Regions from separate parts of the Homo sapiens genome. Here regions 2 and 3 are each linked to region 1. Evidence: promoter capture Hi-C in 16 types of primary human blood cells and fetal thymus (Javierre and others, 2016). All regions are on one chromosome and are shown on one strand. Each heading gives the region's core, a stretch centred on a gene start or on the middle of the fragment in contact. The rest is flanking DNA. Distances are from core to core; before and after follow the strand shown. Region 1 holds the start of MBOAT7 (membrane bound acylglycerophosphatidylinositol O-acyltransferase MBOAT7). Region 2 holds the start of PNKP (polynucleotide kinase 3'-phosphatase). Region 3 holds the start of NAPSA (napsin A aspartic peptidase).

Region 1 (5,069 bases), core at 2,570-5,069:
CTCCCAAAGTGCTGGGATTACAAGCATAAGCCACCACGCCCAGACTCACCATGTGAATGTATTACACTGACAAAATAAACGTGACAAAATAAAACTGCACATTGATAAGATAAAGGTGTAATTATTGGAATAGTGGTAGTGTTCTAGTACTTTCTTAAGCAAAAACATGGGTAAATGATTTCATAAGTGCAAATTTTTTACAAATACATGTGTTTTAGCTTTTATAAAAATTGCAGAATATAACACATCCAAAAAAGAGTCTAAAATATAAATATACAGTATCAAAAAAATTCACCACTACCCAGGCCATGAAAAAGCAGAACGCCTTCCAGAGTCCTTCCTTTCTCCCCAGGCTCTGAACTCCTAAAATTACAATACTCATTTCCTTTCATAATATATATATATATACACACACATATATATACATACATGTGTGTATATTTACATATATACACACACACATATATATATTTTTTGAGACAGGTTCTTGCTCTGTCTCCCAGGCTGGAGGGCAGTGGTGCAATCACAGCTCACAGCAGCCTCAACTTCCCAGGCTCAAGGGATCCCTGGCTAATTTTTTTTTAAATTATTTTTTGTAGAGACTGGGTATTACAATGTTGCCAGAGCTGGTCTCAAACTCCTGGGCTCAAGCGATCCCCCTGCCTTGGCCTCCAAAAGTTCTGTGGGATTACAGGTGTGGGTCATCGTGCCCAGCCTATATTTTTATTTATAACGTTTGTATGCATCTGGGAAATTTCATAGAAATCTTTTCAAAAGGAAGTTTAGTGAGGTAGAAAGAGTGCAGATTTAGGAGTCAGAAAAACCAATTTTGAAAGGCCAGGCCTGCTATTTACTAAGTGTGTGACTTTGGGCAAGTCAGTCCCCCTCCTCCAGGCCTTTTTCTCACCTGTACATGCAGATGAGACCATCCACGGGTTCCAGGACTGTCGCAAACATTCAAATCATGAACATTTATATACCAAGTTTATTGAGACCTCCTGAGACTTAAACCCTGTAGAAAACAGATGAATCAAACCCAGGCCCCATTCTCGGGAAGCTCACAGTGTGAAAATAGGTAACTACAAAAACACAGCCAATAAGTGCTTTGAAACAAGGAAGAACATAAAAAAGATGTAGTGTTCGAAAACCTGGAATCAAAAACTAACCGCGGAGAAAGGTAGGAGGATGTTCTAGACTCCCAGAGAAGAGCTGGGGAACATCCAGAAAGGCTCTTGCTGCCGACACAGCCACATCCCCTAGGTCTCTGGAGTTCACTGCAGGCTGGCCCATTGCAGGGAGGTGTAGACCACCTTACCATCAGGCTGCGGAGAACAGAGGAGCAGGGTCTTTCTGACGCTGGTTCCAAGGCGCCCAGCAGCAACCAGGTCTTGGAGTGGGATGGTGTCCTCAGGGGCCCAGCACTGAGCGATATAATGGGCGTGGAAGCGGAGGGGGTCACCTGGGGGAAGGAGAGAGGCACTGAAGCAGTGACCAATGGCAGACGGCTGGACGCCACGGGAACGACCACTGGGAGGAGATCTGAGATCATTTCAGCCATCACTATAGATACTCTAAAACAGATGCTCTTGGACACAACTATTCCACTTCTAGGCTTTTTTTTTTTTTTTGAGACAAAGTCTCGCTCTTGTCCCCCAGGCTGGAGTGCAATGGCACGATCTTGGCTCACTACAACCTCTGCCCCCTGGGTTCACATGATTCTCCTGCTTCAGCCTCCCGAGTAGCTGGAAATACAGGCACCCACCACCACGCCCAGTTAGTTTTAGTATTTTTAGTAGAGATGGGGTTTCACCATGTTGGCCAGACTGGTATCAAACTCCTGACCTCAGGTGATCCACCTGTCTTGGCCTCCCAAAGTGTTGGGATTACAGGCGTGAGCCATTGCGCCCAGCCTGATGTCTAACTACTTCTAAGTGAATCTTCTGGATCACAGTAATCATTTAATAAAAGTCGTTAAACTGCTTGCCCAATGAGTTCGGGAGCTCCCAAATGTTTCCTGTCTGTCTATGAATTTCAGAGGCTAAGAGAAAGTGAGACAAAAAAGAAAAATGCAGCTGGGCCTATAATTCCAGCACTTTGGGGGGCCGAGGTGGAAGGATTGCTTGAGCCCAGGAATAGGGACCAGCCTAAGCAACAAGAGACCCCACCTCTATTAAGACAAAAAAAAAAAAAAAGAAAAACGCAGAATACATTGGGATCGTATGGAAAGGCACAGCAACCAGAGGCCCCAACCCATACTCACCAGGATAGACCAGGAAGTCACCTCCGAACTTGCCAGCCGCACTGAGGAAGAAGCCTCGCTCCCACAGGTCTCTGTAGATACTGTAGCGCAGCTCGTGGGCAGGGCGGCCGGCGTGGGGCCAGTCTTTAGACTGGACACGCCAGTCCAGGGGCCTGGCCTTGACCGGTCGAGGCCTGGCAGTGGCCAGCTGGACAAGGAGAGCAGATCTGGGCAAGGGGGCTACCCCATTTGAGGGTCCTGCTTGGGAAGACGAGGGGCCTGGTGGGGAGTACAGAGAAGAGTTTGGTAAATTCAAGGGGTAAAGTCTTCTCACCCTCAGGGAGACCCAGGCACTGGATTCCCAGCTAAAATTCCTAAAAGATCTCTCCTCTCCTTCCCGTGGTCCCTGGACTCCACCTCCCATGCTCACCAGCTTCCTCCTGCTCTCCCGAAGCCTGGCCATCACTGGTCTCATCCTCTTTGGCAGCCTGGCTCGAGCCGGCCTCCTGGCTTGAGCTGGCCCCTGAAGCCTGTTCTAGTTTCTGCTTCTTAGCAGCCTGGCCCTCCGTAATCTTCTCCAGGAGCTCCTGACGACGGGTCTCCCGGGCCTCAGCTGCCAAGGCGCTCTGCTCCTGGAAGCTCTCCTCTTGCTGGCGCTTGAAGGATGTCAGGGCCTGAGAAGCACACTTCGCTGGAACCTCCAAGCTTATGGTCCCTTCAGAAGCCAGGAAACTTGACTCCCAGGTCCCGCTCCCACCGAACCCGAGTTCGAGCCCCGCCCCCTTACCAGGCTGTGGTGCCGAGAGTCTGGACGCGGGGCGCTGACCAGAGTCACGGCGCCGATCTCGGCCAAGAGCCGCGCCTCTTCGGGCATCAGCAGCAGCGGGAGGCCCAGGCGCGAGTTCTGGCGGGGCCCGCGGGGCAGGGCGCCTACCGTGCGGCCCCCCACACCCAGGCGCTCCCGGAGGGCCTGCACCGCCTCGGCTCCCCACACCAGGGAGCGGCCGTTCGCCACCTCCACCACCAGCATCCTCCTGCGGGAGCCGGGAGGCAAAGCAGTTACCGAAACAGCTGCGCGCCGCGGACCGCTGCAGCGCACCCAAAGCCTCCGGGGTCTCGGCGAAGCCCCGCCCCTAGGCCTCAGGGGGCGGGGCCTCGCTCAGCCGCCGTTCACCACCTGCTGGGCCCGAGCGCCAGGCCCCGCCCCCGGGCGATCCCACCAGGCCTCGCGGCCGCCGGAGACGAGACGCCGGAGACAAGCCCCCGACCCTCTCCCCTCGCCAAGCCCCCAGGGTCCCGCTCTACCCTTGTGACCCTGCGGTCGGCACCCGCTCTGTGCCCGCACTGCCGTACCTACCATTGCGCCTTGGAGCGTGAAAAACAAACCTCCGCAAGCGCGGCGACACGCCCCCTTACAAAGGTCCATTTTGGCACCACCCTCTTGCAAAGTGGGCGTCCCCCTTCGGGTGTTCCCGTCAGCGGTCAGAAGCTCTGGAGGCTAAGGCACCGCCGAGGCCACACCCTCTTCCGGACGCTCGAGCCTTCGCTCCTCCTCTTTCCGAACGACTGTGATTCGGCTTTCGGACCTCCTCGCTCTCAGACTCCCACAGTACAAAACCCTGCCCCCTCCCGAGCACAGGAAGTTCGGCGTTCGGGCGTCCTCGGCTCCACCGAATCCGCAGCCCCGCCCCCTTCTCGAACGCCAGCAATTTGACGTTCGGGTGTTCTCGGCTCGGCCGAATCCGTAGCCCCGCCTCCTCCCGGACGCAATAGGTTCGGCGTTCGGGCGTCATCGGCTCCCGGCAGCCTCGCGGCCTGTGGCCCCGCCCCCTCCGAGCGCCAGCGCACCCCAGTTGGGGAGTTCCCGCCCTACGACCGAACCCCACAGCCGAAAGCCCCGCCCCCTGGACACCCGCCGTCCACTCTCCGCTCGGGCGGGCTCACCCCAATTGGGAGCGCTCAGTCCGCCTCCTTGCCTCCCTTCAGAATGTCCCACTGTCCACCGATAGAACCAGCGAGTCACCTCATAAACAGTAATTCGCAGTCGAGGTGGAGCCACCCACTGCGCACCGCGCCACGCGCTCCTTGCTCCACCCCCTCATGCCGACACCCTCGTCAACTTCGTCATCCCGCCCCATCAGCGCCGCGGGAAGTCAGGTCCCGCCCCTCGCAGGACCGAAGCCCCGCCCTCCTCCCGCGGGGGCCACCTTGGCTCCGCCCCACTGAGCGCACCTCCCTCTGCCGCTTCCTCTCCTCTACTTGGGAACTTGAGGATCGTCATCCTGGCCCGGTCCCGTAGGCGCACGCCGGCCCTCGGGGTTCCGCCCCTTTGAGGGCAAGTCGCTTTCGCCCCGCCCCCTTGTAAATACTCATGGGTGTCTGGCGAACCTGTTGACTCCGCCTATCATCCTAGCGTCACTTGTACCCAACTATCTACGAAGTAAACCGAAGCTTGTGGCCCCACCCACATCCGGCCGAGTCTGTGGCCCCGCCCACATCGGAACAGTGACCCTAAGGACTCGACTACCTCCGAAGAAAGCCGAAACATGTGGCTCCGCCCACAGTGGCCTCAGCTCTCCGTTCTCGACTATTGCCGAAGTGAGCCGAAGTTTGTGGCCCCGCTTCCGGAGAACTCAAGCTCCCGATTGTGCCCGAAGGAACCCGAAGGGAGACCCCGCCTCATTCCTCACGCCGAGCTCCAGACCCCGCCTCCTTTCCAGAGCCCGTCTGTTCCCCTTCGGGTCCAAAGCTTTTGGCTCCTCCTTGTTCCGAGCCCGAAGGCCCGCCCCTTCACGTACTCGGAGCTCGGATCCCAGTGTGGACCTGGACT
Region 2 (5,069 bases), core at 2,570-5,069, 4.3 Mb after region 1:
TTGCAGTTTTAACAATTGCAGCCTTACCATGTGTCCTAGTGCCTTATAGAGAAGGCCTCTCCTTTCCAGGAGCGTCTCTATTTATAGAACACCTGCTCTGGGCAAGGCACAGGTGTTTTGGCATGCCCTCCAGTGGAGAAACTGAGGCTTGGAGGGTTCAGATCACCTCCCATCCCCACCCTGCACATTCCTAGCCCTTTGCAGAATTTGTCCCACCCCCTGGTCCCCTGTTCACCCCTTGTAGCAACCCCTGTTTGAAGCTCCTGGGCTGGGCTCTGCTGGCCTAGGTGGGTCCTCCTCACCCTTCACTGAGCCTCCCTGAAGCAGAGGGGAAACTGAGGCACTGAGGGGACATGTGACTTCCCTGAGAGGCAGAGCTGGGACTGGAACCCAGGTGTGTTTCAGGAAGGAGCTGTGGGCTTTGAGGGAGGAGGCCTGGGTCCCCACAGTCCCCCCCTCAAGCCTCAGTGTCCTTATATGCAAACCAGCAGTCACAGTGGTGACCTTTTCTGTGCATCCTCCCTCAATGAAGCAGTGAGCACTGAAGACCAGGAACAGGGCCTGGTGCGGGCGGGGTCCACCTGCTGCTGCTCTCTGTGCTTGCGACTCATGGCAACACAGTTAATTGAATGCTCTGGCCTCTTGCGTGCTGTGCCCGGGGGCTGGTCTCCCACTGGGCTCAGGTCCAGTTCCTGATCTGGGTCTCCGGGTCCCATCCTGCGAGGGGACAGGCCCAGCTCCGGGTGACGGGGGCTGTAGTGGAGGCAGTACTAGGTGCCAGAACTGCAGGCTCCTTGGCGGGGGCTGACACAGCGAGGGATCTTTTCTGTAGCGCAGTGGCCACATGATAAGGCAGTAACAGCTGATTATCTCAGCCCTCACAGAGACCCTGTTATCCGCCCCATTTTTCAGAAGGGGAGACTGAGGCCTAGGGAAGCAAAACCTCTTGCTCATAGTTTGTCAGCGGCAGAGGTCTGATTGGAACATGACTGAAACCCCAGCCCAGATCCTCAGACATGAGACGGTGCACTCAGCCTTAATGGCTAGCAGGCAACAGCACTTCCACTGTGTAGGAAGCAATGTCCTAGGCCAAGAAGGGGAGAGGGAGAGGGGCAGGTAGGCTTCGTGGAGGAGGTGTCTGAACCGGGTAGAAGGGTTCCTACGTGGAGCAAGACGGGGAGGGGCACTGCTGGCAGTGGGCATCGCAGGGCACAGGTGGCAGGGCAGGGACGTGCTAGAAGTGGGCTTGGAGCCCGGGTGCACCCCTGGACCGCGTGTGGGTGCAGGGGGATTGCCCTGCCGGCGCTGACCTCGCCCCGTCGCCGTCCCCGCAGCCCTCTTCGCCCGACCTGGACCGCATCGCGGCGAGCATGCGCGCGCTGGTGCTGCGAGAGGCCGAGGACACCCAGGTCTTCGGGGACCTGCCACGGCCGCGGCTTAACACCAGCGACTTCCAGAAGCTGAAGCGGAAATATTGAAGTCCAGGGAGGGAGCGCCCCGGGCCGCGTCCGCCCCGTCCCACACTACGCCCCCGCCCCACTCCCGGGGCCTGCTAATCTGAGGCCGATCCGGGACCGGCCTCCTTGCGTCTCCCATTCCCAAGATTGTCCCGCCTCTGCCAATCCCCGCCGTCCTTCCAGCCCACGACCTGCCGCGCCGAGGAGCGGCATCTGTCCCGTTTCCCGATTGGGTCTGTCGTCTCTCTCCGCCTAGCGACAGATTCCTTCTATTAAGGGATTGGCTCGCTGAGTTCTAAGCTCTAAATGGGTCAACTCCTTTGTTTTCCGCCTAGCGACAAGGGATTTGCTCGCACGGCATTGGCTCCATCCCCTAGTCGCTGGACAGCTCTTTTTTTGATTGGCTCAAATCCTGTAAAGGGCTTGACCAGTCTCTACATAGTCACCGTCCGCTTTTCCTGAGTTCTCCCTCCCAATTGGCTCCAGCTTCCTGGGGGCGTGGCCAAGCCCTCCTCTTCCCAGAATTGGCCCGGGGCCTTCAATTTACGTTCTTTACACTACGGGGACTGGGGTCGTCTTTGCCCACGTCCCGACAACTTGTTCCCTGACCCCCTCAGGGATGGCCCCAAACTGTCCCTGCCTCTGGCACCCCCTTTCATTGGTTCCATCCATCCCCACAACAGCCTGCCAATCGAAGCCCGTCCCTGCATCCAGGATGGTACCAGCTCCCGCCCCTCGCCCCCCACCTCCACAGGTGCCTTAAAGGGCCCTCGTCCACCCAAGGTGGGGGGCAGGGGCCCTCACTCTCCGGCCCTGGTGTGGGGGAGAGAGTGAGGGGTTGGGGGATCGGCAGTTGGGAGGGGCGCTCTGAGATTAAAGAGTTTTACCTCTGAGATAAATGTGAAGTGTGTTGTGAGTGTTCATTCAACATTTTCTGAAACCGAATGGCAGCGTCTGATTATCAGTGAATAGCTGGGGGTTGGAATTACTGTGCCCATTTTATTTACTTTTTTGAGACAGGGTCCCACTCTCGCCCAGGTTCAAGCGATTCTCCTGCCTCAACCTCCCGAGTAGCTGGGATTACGCGCCACTGCCGCCCGGGTAATTTTTGTATTTTCAGTAGAAACAGGGTTTCATCATGTTGGTCAGGATGGTCTTGAACTCCTGACCTCAAATGATCCACCCGCCTTGGCCTCCCAAAGTGCTGGGATTACAGGCGTGAGCCACGGCGCCTGGCTTTGTGCCCATTTTATAGATATGAAGACACAGGTTCATGGGGTGGAGGAGAGCATCCCAGTCTTATGTGACCATGGAACCCAATCTTGAGGAGGTGAGTGTTGGAGACAGAGCCCACATATTCACCAGCAAAGCCAGGAACTCCAGCCGGGAGTCTTCTATTATAAAAGGACTGGAGCAACTGGGCTTGGTGCCTCACGCCTATAAGCCCAACACGCTGGGAGGCCAAGGCGGGAGGATCACATGACACCAGGAGGTCGAGATCAGCCTGGGCAGCACAGTGAGACCCCTTCTCCAAAGGGAAAAAAAAATGGCTGGAGGTTAGAAAGCAGGTGGAACCTCGTCCGAAATTAGGACTAGGTAAACGTAGTCCCACCAGACCACTACCGAAAGAATGCTAACACTAAATAAGACTTAAACGGATCTGAGCACTTTGGGAGGCCGAGGTGGGCGGATCACGAGATCAGGAGATCGAGACCGTCCTGGCTAACACGGTGAAACCCCGTCTCTACTCAAAATACAAAAAATTAGCTGGGCGTGGTGGCGGGCGCCTGTAGTCCCAGCTACTCGGGAGGCTGAGACAGGAGAATGGCGTCAACCCGGGAGGCGGAGCTTGCAGGTGAGCCGAGATCGCGCCACTGCACTCCAGCCTGGGCGACAGAGTGAGACTCCGTCTCAAAAAAAAAAAAAAAAAAAGACTTAAACAGGGCTCACTACCACCCATTTTTTAAAGCTTTTGTCACGTGTTAGCTCCTTTAATCGTCATGGTAACCCCACGAAGCGGAAACGATTATCCTTTTTATAGATGAGGAAACTAGAACATCGAGGGTGAAGCCAAAGAAGGACTTAGGGGCGCTGTCGGGGGCGGAGGTTTCCTCGACTGACAATGACCATCAGATGGGAAAAAAATCTTCCTCCCTGGGATGAAAATTAGAAGTCAAGGTGGAAAGAGGCAAATCTGCTAACGGAGGATCCAGTCCCCGCTACCGGCCTGAGCCTCGCGTTGCAGCAAGAGAGATGAAGGTCAGGGCTGCCGAGAGACCCTGGGGGCCGGGAGTCGGGGAAGGGGCGTGGCTGCTGTGGGAGGAGGCCAGGCCCCGCCCCCCACCCACGAGGGGACGAGTCATTTCCGTCCGCCGAGGAACCGACCGCCGCCGGCCGGGTTGCAGGCGGGGCACCTCGGGCAGGACCTCCCTGGTCGGAAGTGGCCGTGAGCCCAAGCCGCGGTCCCGGGTGAGTACGGGGCGGGGCGGAGGCATGTGCGAGGCTCTCTGCCTGTACGCTGGAAAGTGGGGATTGCAACTCGGGGAGGGATGGAGCACGCGTCGTCGCCTGGGAAACGGGTCGACCCGCGGAAGGCGAGCGGGTGGGACTTCCGGAGCAGTTAATGGTGGGGAAACTTTCTAGTGGATGTGGGAGGAGGCGGGACTTCCTGCAGCAAATTGGGGCTGTGCGCCGCTCAAGCCCGTTTACCTGCTCCCCAGGCCGGCACCCAGGATGGGCGAGGTGGAGGCCCCGGGCCGCTTGTGGCTCGAGAGCCCCCCTGGGGGAGCGCCCCCCATCTTCCTGCCCTCGGACGGGCAAGCCCTGGTCCTGGGCAGGGGACCCCTGACCCAGGTTACGGACCGGAAGTGCTCCAGAACTCAAGGTGAGCGGGGCCTGAGCTGGAGGGGGTGTGGCCTGCTGCAAAAGCGGGAACAATCCAGAGGGACGCTTGGCTGCTACGCGGGATTGCAGTGGTGCAGCCAGCCCCGAAGTCGGAAGGTGCTCTCTAGGGAGTACAGGAAGATAAAGTTTGTGCTTGATTTAGAATTAGCTAGATCCTTTGGGGGAGAGGGGATCGAGCCGATTTAGGGAGGATGTTCACTGCGCGGATGATGCTCAGGCCATCGGGAAATCCAGAAACAGGCGACGACCTTCGTCAAGAGAAAAATGATCCTGTGGAGAAAAGTAAATGTCGCTAGGTTGGGATGGATGGTAACAGGCCAAGCCCCGGACCTATATCTAGCCACATTTTTTGTCAAGGAGGAAACCAATTCTGTAGAGAAAAGTACCTCCCTGTCCCTTGCAAGGACCAGTGTCAGGCAATCCTAGTGCCACTATCTGGCTACTGCATGTCAAGGAGCCAATCCCATGTAGAAATAAACTGCCTCTTACTCCCTGGATGCTATAGCCTGAAGCAGGCCACACTCCCCAGAAATGAGGGACCCAATCACACAAGGATGCAAATCCTGACTCCACCCCTCCAATCCTCAGTGGAGCTGGTCGCAGATCCTGAGACCCGGACAGTGGCAGTGAAACAGGTATCAGTGCCTCTGCAAGGGCCAGCAAGGCCTGGGGATGGGATTTGGGGAGGAATTGCAAGCCGTCAGTGAA
Region 3 (5,069 bases), core at 919-3,418, 3.8 Mb after region 1:
GTAACTTGATGCCCTGAAGGGAAGGATGCAAGCATGGCTGCCTTTGGAACCTGCTAGTTTTAGAGCCCAAGGGCCTTGAGCAAACATAAGCAGTAGGCAGGTAGGTCGTGGTTACAGGAGGCCATGGGCAGGACCCAGCGCAATCCCAGTGATAGTAGGCATGGGGTGTTTGTGTCACCCCACTCCCAGCTCCAGGTAGCTCAGCAGAGAGAGAGAGACAGAGACAGAGAGAGAGAGAGAGAGAGAGAGAGAGAGAGGGAGAGAGAGAGACTGACTCTGTTTGAGAGAAAGCAAGGGAAGAGAGCAAGAGTCTCTGCCTGGTAATCCAGATAAATCTTCTGGATCTTATCTAAGACCACTAAGATAGTACCTCTATGAGTTTGCAAGAACCACAGCATTAATGGGCTTGGGGAGCCCCCTAATGCAGACATGGCTTAGATCACAACACCCAAGTACTTTTGAATACCTGGAAAGCCTCCCCAAAAAGGACAGGTACAAACAAGCCTTGTCTGCAAAGACTACAATAAATACCTAACATGGCCAGGCATGGTGGCTCATGTCTAATCCCAGCATTTTGGGAGGCTGAAGCAGGAAGATCACCTGAGGTCAGGAGTTTGAGACCAGGCTAGACAACATGGTGAAACCCTGTCTCTTCTAAAAATACAAAAATTAGCTGGGTGTAGGCTGGGTGCGGTGGCTCATGCCTGTAATCCCAGCACTTTGGGAGGCCGAGGCAGGTGGATCACCTGAGGTCAGGAGTTCGAGACCAGCCTGACCAATATGATGAAACCCTGTCTTTACTAAAAATACAAAAACTAGCTGGCATGCGCCTATAATCCCAGCTACTTGGGAGGCTGAGACAGGACAATCGCTTGAACTCAGGAGGCAGAGGTTGCAGTGAGCCAAGATGGCGCCATTACACTCCAGCCTAGGCAATAAGAGTGAAACTCCATCTCAAAAAAAAAAAAAAAATTTAGCCAGGGTGGTATCGGGTGCCTGTAGTCCCAGCTACTCGGGAGGCTGAGGCAGAATTACTTGCACCTGGGAGGCAGAGGTTGCAGTGAGCTGAGATCACACCATTGCACTGCAGCTTGGGCAACAAGAGCAAAACTCCATCTAAATAAATAAATAAATAAATAAATAAATAAATAAATAAATAACTCATCAATGCCCAGCCACCAATGAACATCTATAAGCATCAAGGCCATCCAGAATAAATGACCTTACCAAACAAATCAAATAAGCCACCAAGGACCAATCCTTGAAGAAACAGAGATATGTGACCTTTCCGACAGAGAATTTAAAATAGCTGTTTTGAGGAAACTCAAAGAAATTCAAGCTAACACACAGAAGGAATTCAGATTCCATCACATAAATTTAACAAAGAGATTGAAATAATTGAGAATCAGCTGGGTGCAGTGGCTCACGCCTGTAATCCCAGCACTTTAGGAGGCTGAGGCGGGCGGATCACCTGAGGTCGGGAGTTCTAGACCAGCCTGACCAACATGGAGAAACCCTGTCTCTACTAAAACTACAAAATTAGTGGGGCGTGGTTGCGCATGCCTGTAATCCCAGCCTGGGCAACAAGAGTGAAACTCGGTCTCAAAAAAAAAAAAACCAAAAAACAAAAACAAAAACAAACAAACAAAAAACAATACCCAATGATCTGTTGTCAACAAGAAACATACTTCACCTACAAATAAAACAGTAAGAGACTGGGTCCTGAAATGCGGGCCCACTTCATATGTGAGGGCAGGTGTCTAATCATGTCCTTTCTCCCTTCCCCCAGGCCCTTCACAGATACCTGCTGGTCTCTCCCACTTGGCCAAGGAAACACTTGTGGTTAATAAGTCTCAGAAAAGTTATGTGAAAGTTAAAAGTAAAACTGACAGCAGCTGAAGGATGGGGGGGTGGGAGGTGGTGACGGTGGAGGAGACCCCACCACCACTGCCACCCAAGTAGGGAGTGAGGAGCACCAGGAGCACAGGATGCTACTTCTGCCAACCCTACAAAAATACTCTGCACAAATCTTCAAAAAACATCCTTGTCCCACTGCGTCACCTGCGGACAGATTTCATGTCCTGGTCTCCTTCTAAACCTGGAGGTGGGGCATGAACAGGGTGGAGTCACAGGGGAAAGAAAATGAGGCCCCAGGACACCTGGGTTCACACCCAGGTCCCCAGCGATGTCTCCACCACCGCTGCTGCAACCCCTGCTGCTGCTGCTGCCTCTGCTGAATGTGGAGCCTTCCGGGGCCACACTGATCCGGTATGGTGACCCCATCTACCACCCCAACCTTAGGAGGGATTTTCTGCCTCTTGCCCTTTAAGTCTAGGACTCCCAGTTCAGTGATCCCCAAACTTGGCACCCAGGATCCCTAGAGCTTCTTTCTCAGCTTTCCAGATCTCTAAACCAGGCTGTCACCCCTAAGGGCTCCACTCTGACATCTCTTAAGACCAGATTTCTTTTTTTTGAGATGGAGTCTCACTCTGTTGCCCAGGCTGGAGTGCAATGGCATGATCTCAGCTCACTGAAACCTCTGCCTCCTGGGTTCAAGCGATTCTCCTGCCTCAGCTTCCCAAGTAGCTGGGATTACAGGCTCGCGCCACCATGCTCAGCTAATTTTTGTATTTTTAGTAGAGACGGGGTTTCACCATGTTGGCCAGGCTGGTCTGGAACCCCTGACCTCGTGATCCGCTCACCTCGGCCTCCCAAAGTGCTGGGATTACAGGCGTGAGCCACCGCGCCTGGCTGACCAGAGCCCTTTTATTATTATTATTATTATTATTATTATTTATTATTATTATTATTATTTGAGACAGAGTCTTGCTCTGTTACCCAGGCTGGAGTGCAGTGGGGCGATCTCAGCTCACTGCAACCTCTGCCTCCCGGGTTCAAGTGATTCTCCTGCCTCAGCCTCCCAAGTAGCTGGGACTACAGGCACATGCCACCACGCCCGGCTAATTTTTGTATTTTTAGTAGAGATGGGGTTTCGCCATGTTTGCCAGGCTGTCTTGAACTCCTGACCTCAAGTGATCTTTCCGCCTCAGCCTCCAAAAGTGCTGTGGTTACAGCTGTGAGCCCCCGCGTCCGGTCCCAGAGCCCTTTTAAGTCCCAGATCTTACAACACTGAGACTCTAGATTGAGGACCCCTCCCCCTCCTCTCAGGACTTTTTTTTTTTTTTTTTTTTTGAGACTGAGTCTCACTCTGTTGCCCAGGCTGGAGTGCAGTGGCGCAATCTTGGCTCACTGCAAGCTCTGTCCCCCGGGTTCACATCATTCTCCTGCCTCAGCCTCCCAAGCAGCTGGGACTACAGGCACCCGCCACCACGCCCGGCTAATTTTTTGTATTTTTAGTAGAGATGGGGTTTCACAGTGTTAGCCAGGATGGTCTCGATCTCCTGACCTCGTGATCCACCCACCTCAGCCTCGCAAAGTGCTGGGATTACAGGCGTAAGCCACCGCGCCTGGCCTTTTTTTTTTTTTTTTTTTGAGACGGAGTCTTGCCCTGTCGCCCAGGCTGGAGTGCAATGGCGCGATCTCAGCTCACTGCAACCTCCACCTCCCAGGCTGACACCATTCTCCTGCCTCTGAAAGTGCTGGGATTACAGGCGTGAGTCACCATGCCCGGCTAATTTTTTTTGTATCTTTAGTAGAGATGAGGTTTCACCATGTTGGCCAAGCTGGTCTTGAACTCCTGACTTCGTGATCTGCCTGCCTCAGCCTCCCAAAGTGCTGGGATTACAGGCGTGAGCCACTGCGCCTGGCCAGGACATGTTTTTGAGAGGTCTCTGCAGACCCTACTATGAGCTCTGATGATTAGGTACTGTGGTTTCCAGACCTGTGACACACTCCTCCCATCTTCGAGCCCCAGATATGTGACATTTAAACTGAGACTCCCCCACATCACGCCCATCAAACTGGCCTGAAGAAGTCATGTTTTTGGCCAGAGACATGGCTCACACCTGTAACCCAGCACTTTGGAAGTCCAAGGTGGGAAGCTTGTTTGAGGCCAAGAGTTTTGAGACCAGCCTGGGCAACATGGCCAGACTCCACCTCTACAAAAAATACAAAAATTAGCTCAGTGTGGTGGTGCACACCCATGGTCCCAGCTAGTTCAGGAGGGTGAGGAAGGAGGATTGCTTGAGCCCAGTAGTTCGAGGGGGCAGTGGGCTATGATCCTGCTACTGCACTCCAGGCTGGGCAACAGGGTGACACCTTGTCTAAAAAAAAAATTAATAAATAAAATAAAATAAAATAAAAAGCCAGGTGTGGTGGTGTGCCCATAGTCTCAGCTACTCCAGAGGCTGAGGTGGGAGAATCACTTGAGCCCTGGAGATCAAGGCTGCAGTGAGCCCTGACTGCACTACTGCACTCCAGCCTGGGTGACAGAGGGAGACCCTGTTTCAAATAAAAAGTTTAAAAGAAGAAAAAGAAATCCAATCTTGGGGACCCTATGCAAGAAGTCTTCCCACTACCTTACCTCTGATGTCCCCTCCCCGCCCCCATCTCTCTTTTTCTCCTCTCTTGTCTTCATTCCCTGGAACTCTTGGTAGGGGGAGGGGTGTACACTTCCAGGAAGAGTTTTCCCCACTTCACATTCTCGTGCCTCTCAAAGACTGACTCATGGGGGGTGACGGGAAAGGTGTGAGTGATGTGACAAGTGCTTCAAGGAGTGACTAAAGGCAGGAACGAAGATATTACCGCACATGGTGCTTGTTAACCTGCTTTTTGAACCTAATGTCTCATGGCCATTTTCTAAGTCAATGCAAAGAAAATGAGTCTCCAAATGTTGTATCAACAGCATCGTCATGACCTGGGAACTTGTTAGAAATCCAAATTCTCGGCTCCATCCTAGACCTACTTAATTAGCAACTAAGATACCTGAATTGTAATTGGCCCTCTAAGTCAAGGGTTGCAAACACTCAGCTTAAGGGCCAAATCCTGTTTGCCTCCTGCTTTTGCAAATACAGTTTAAAGGAACCCGGACAGGGCATAGTGGCTCTCCTCTGTAATCCCAGCACTTTAGGAGGCTGAGGCCAGGAGTTTGAGATCAGCACGGGCAACAC

Evidence for each region. The method cuts DNA at HindIII sites, captures the fragments that hold promoters and counts their contacts. A CHiCAGO score of 5 or more calls a contact.
Region 2: a contact is called between the fragment with the promoter of PNKP here and a fragment that was not itself captured in region 1, in 5 of 17 cell types (fetal thymus, erythroblasts, naive CD4 T cells and 2 more). The highest score is 11.1, in fetal thymus.
Region 3: a contact is called between the fragment with the promoter of NAPSA here and a fragment that was not itself captured in region 1, in 1 of 17 cell types (total CD8 T cells). The highest score is 5.5, in total CD8 T cells.

Annotation. Positions count from the first base shown.
Region 1 is chr19:54,189,565-54,194,633 of GRCh38, reverse strand. MBOAT7 (membrane bound acylglycerophosphatidylinositol O-acyltransferase MBOAT7) reads left to right here and starts at 5,054. Exons shown (of 8, transcript NM_024298.5): 1 at 5,054-5,069. TSEN34 (tRNA splicing endonuclease subunit 34) reads right to left here and starts at 3,326. Exons shown (of 4, transcript NM_001077446.4): 1 at 3,027-3,326; 2 at 2,670-2,913; 3 at 2,261-2,518; 4 at 102-1,459. The coding sequence starts at 3,269. The coding sequence ends at 1,272. RefSeq lists enhancers at 1,874-2,390, 4,359-5,040, 5,041-5,069 and a silencer at 3,235-3,436. The HindIII fragment of the contact is 1,746 bases long and covers 2,947-4,692 here.
Region 2 is chr19:49,866,326-49,871,394 of GRCh38, reverse strand. PNKP (polynucleotide kinase 3'-phosphatase) reads left to right here and starts at 3,819. Exons shown (of 17, transcript NM_007254.4): 1 at 3,819-3,926; 2 at 4,178-4,341; 3 at 4,950-4,996. The coding sequence starts at 4,191. AKT1S1 (AKT1 substrate 1) reads left to right here. Exons shown (of 5, transcript NM_001098633.4): 5 at 1,335-2,356. The coding sequence ends at 1,478. RefSeq lists enhancers at 736-1,383, 3,582-4,363, 4,364-5,069 and silencers at 1,299-1,608, 3,683-3,982, 4,053-4,422. The HindIII fragment of the contact is 3,228 bases long and covers 3,429-5,069 here.
Region 3 is chr19:50,362,738-50,367,806 of GRCh38, reverse strand. It overlaps NAPSA (napsin A aspartic peptidase), which reads left to right and starts at 2,168. Exons shown (of 9, transcript NM_004851.3): 1 at 2,168-2,268. The coding sequence starts at 2,186. The region is part of intron 3 of LOC105372437 (a long non-coding RNA gene); the gene reads right to left. RefSeq lists an enhancer at 1,818-1,967. The HindIII fragment of the contact is 17,836 bases long and covers 1-4,003 here.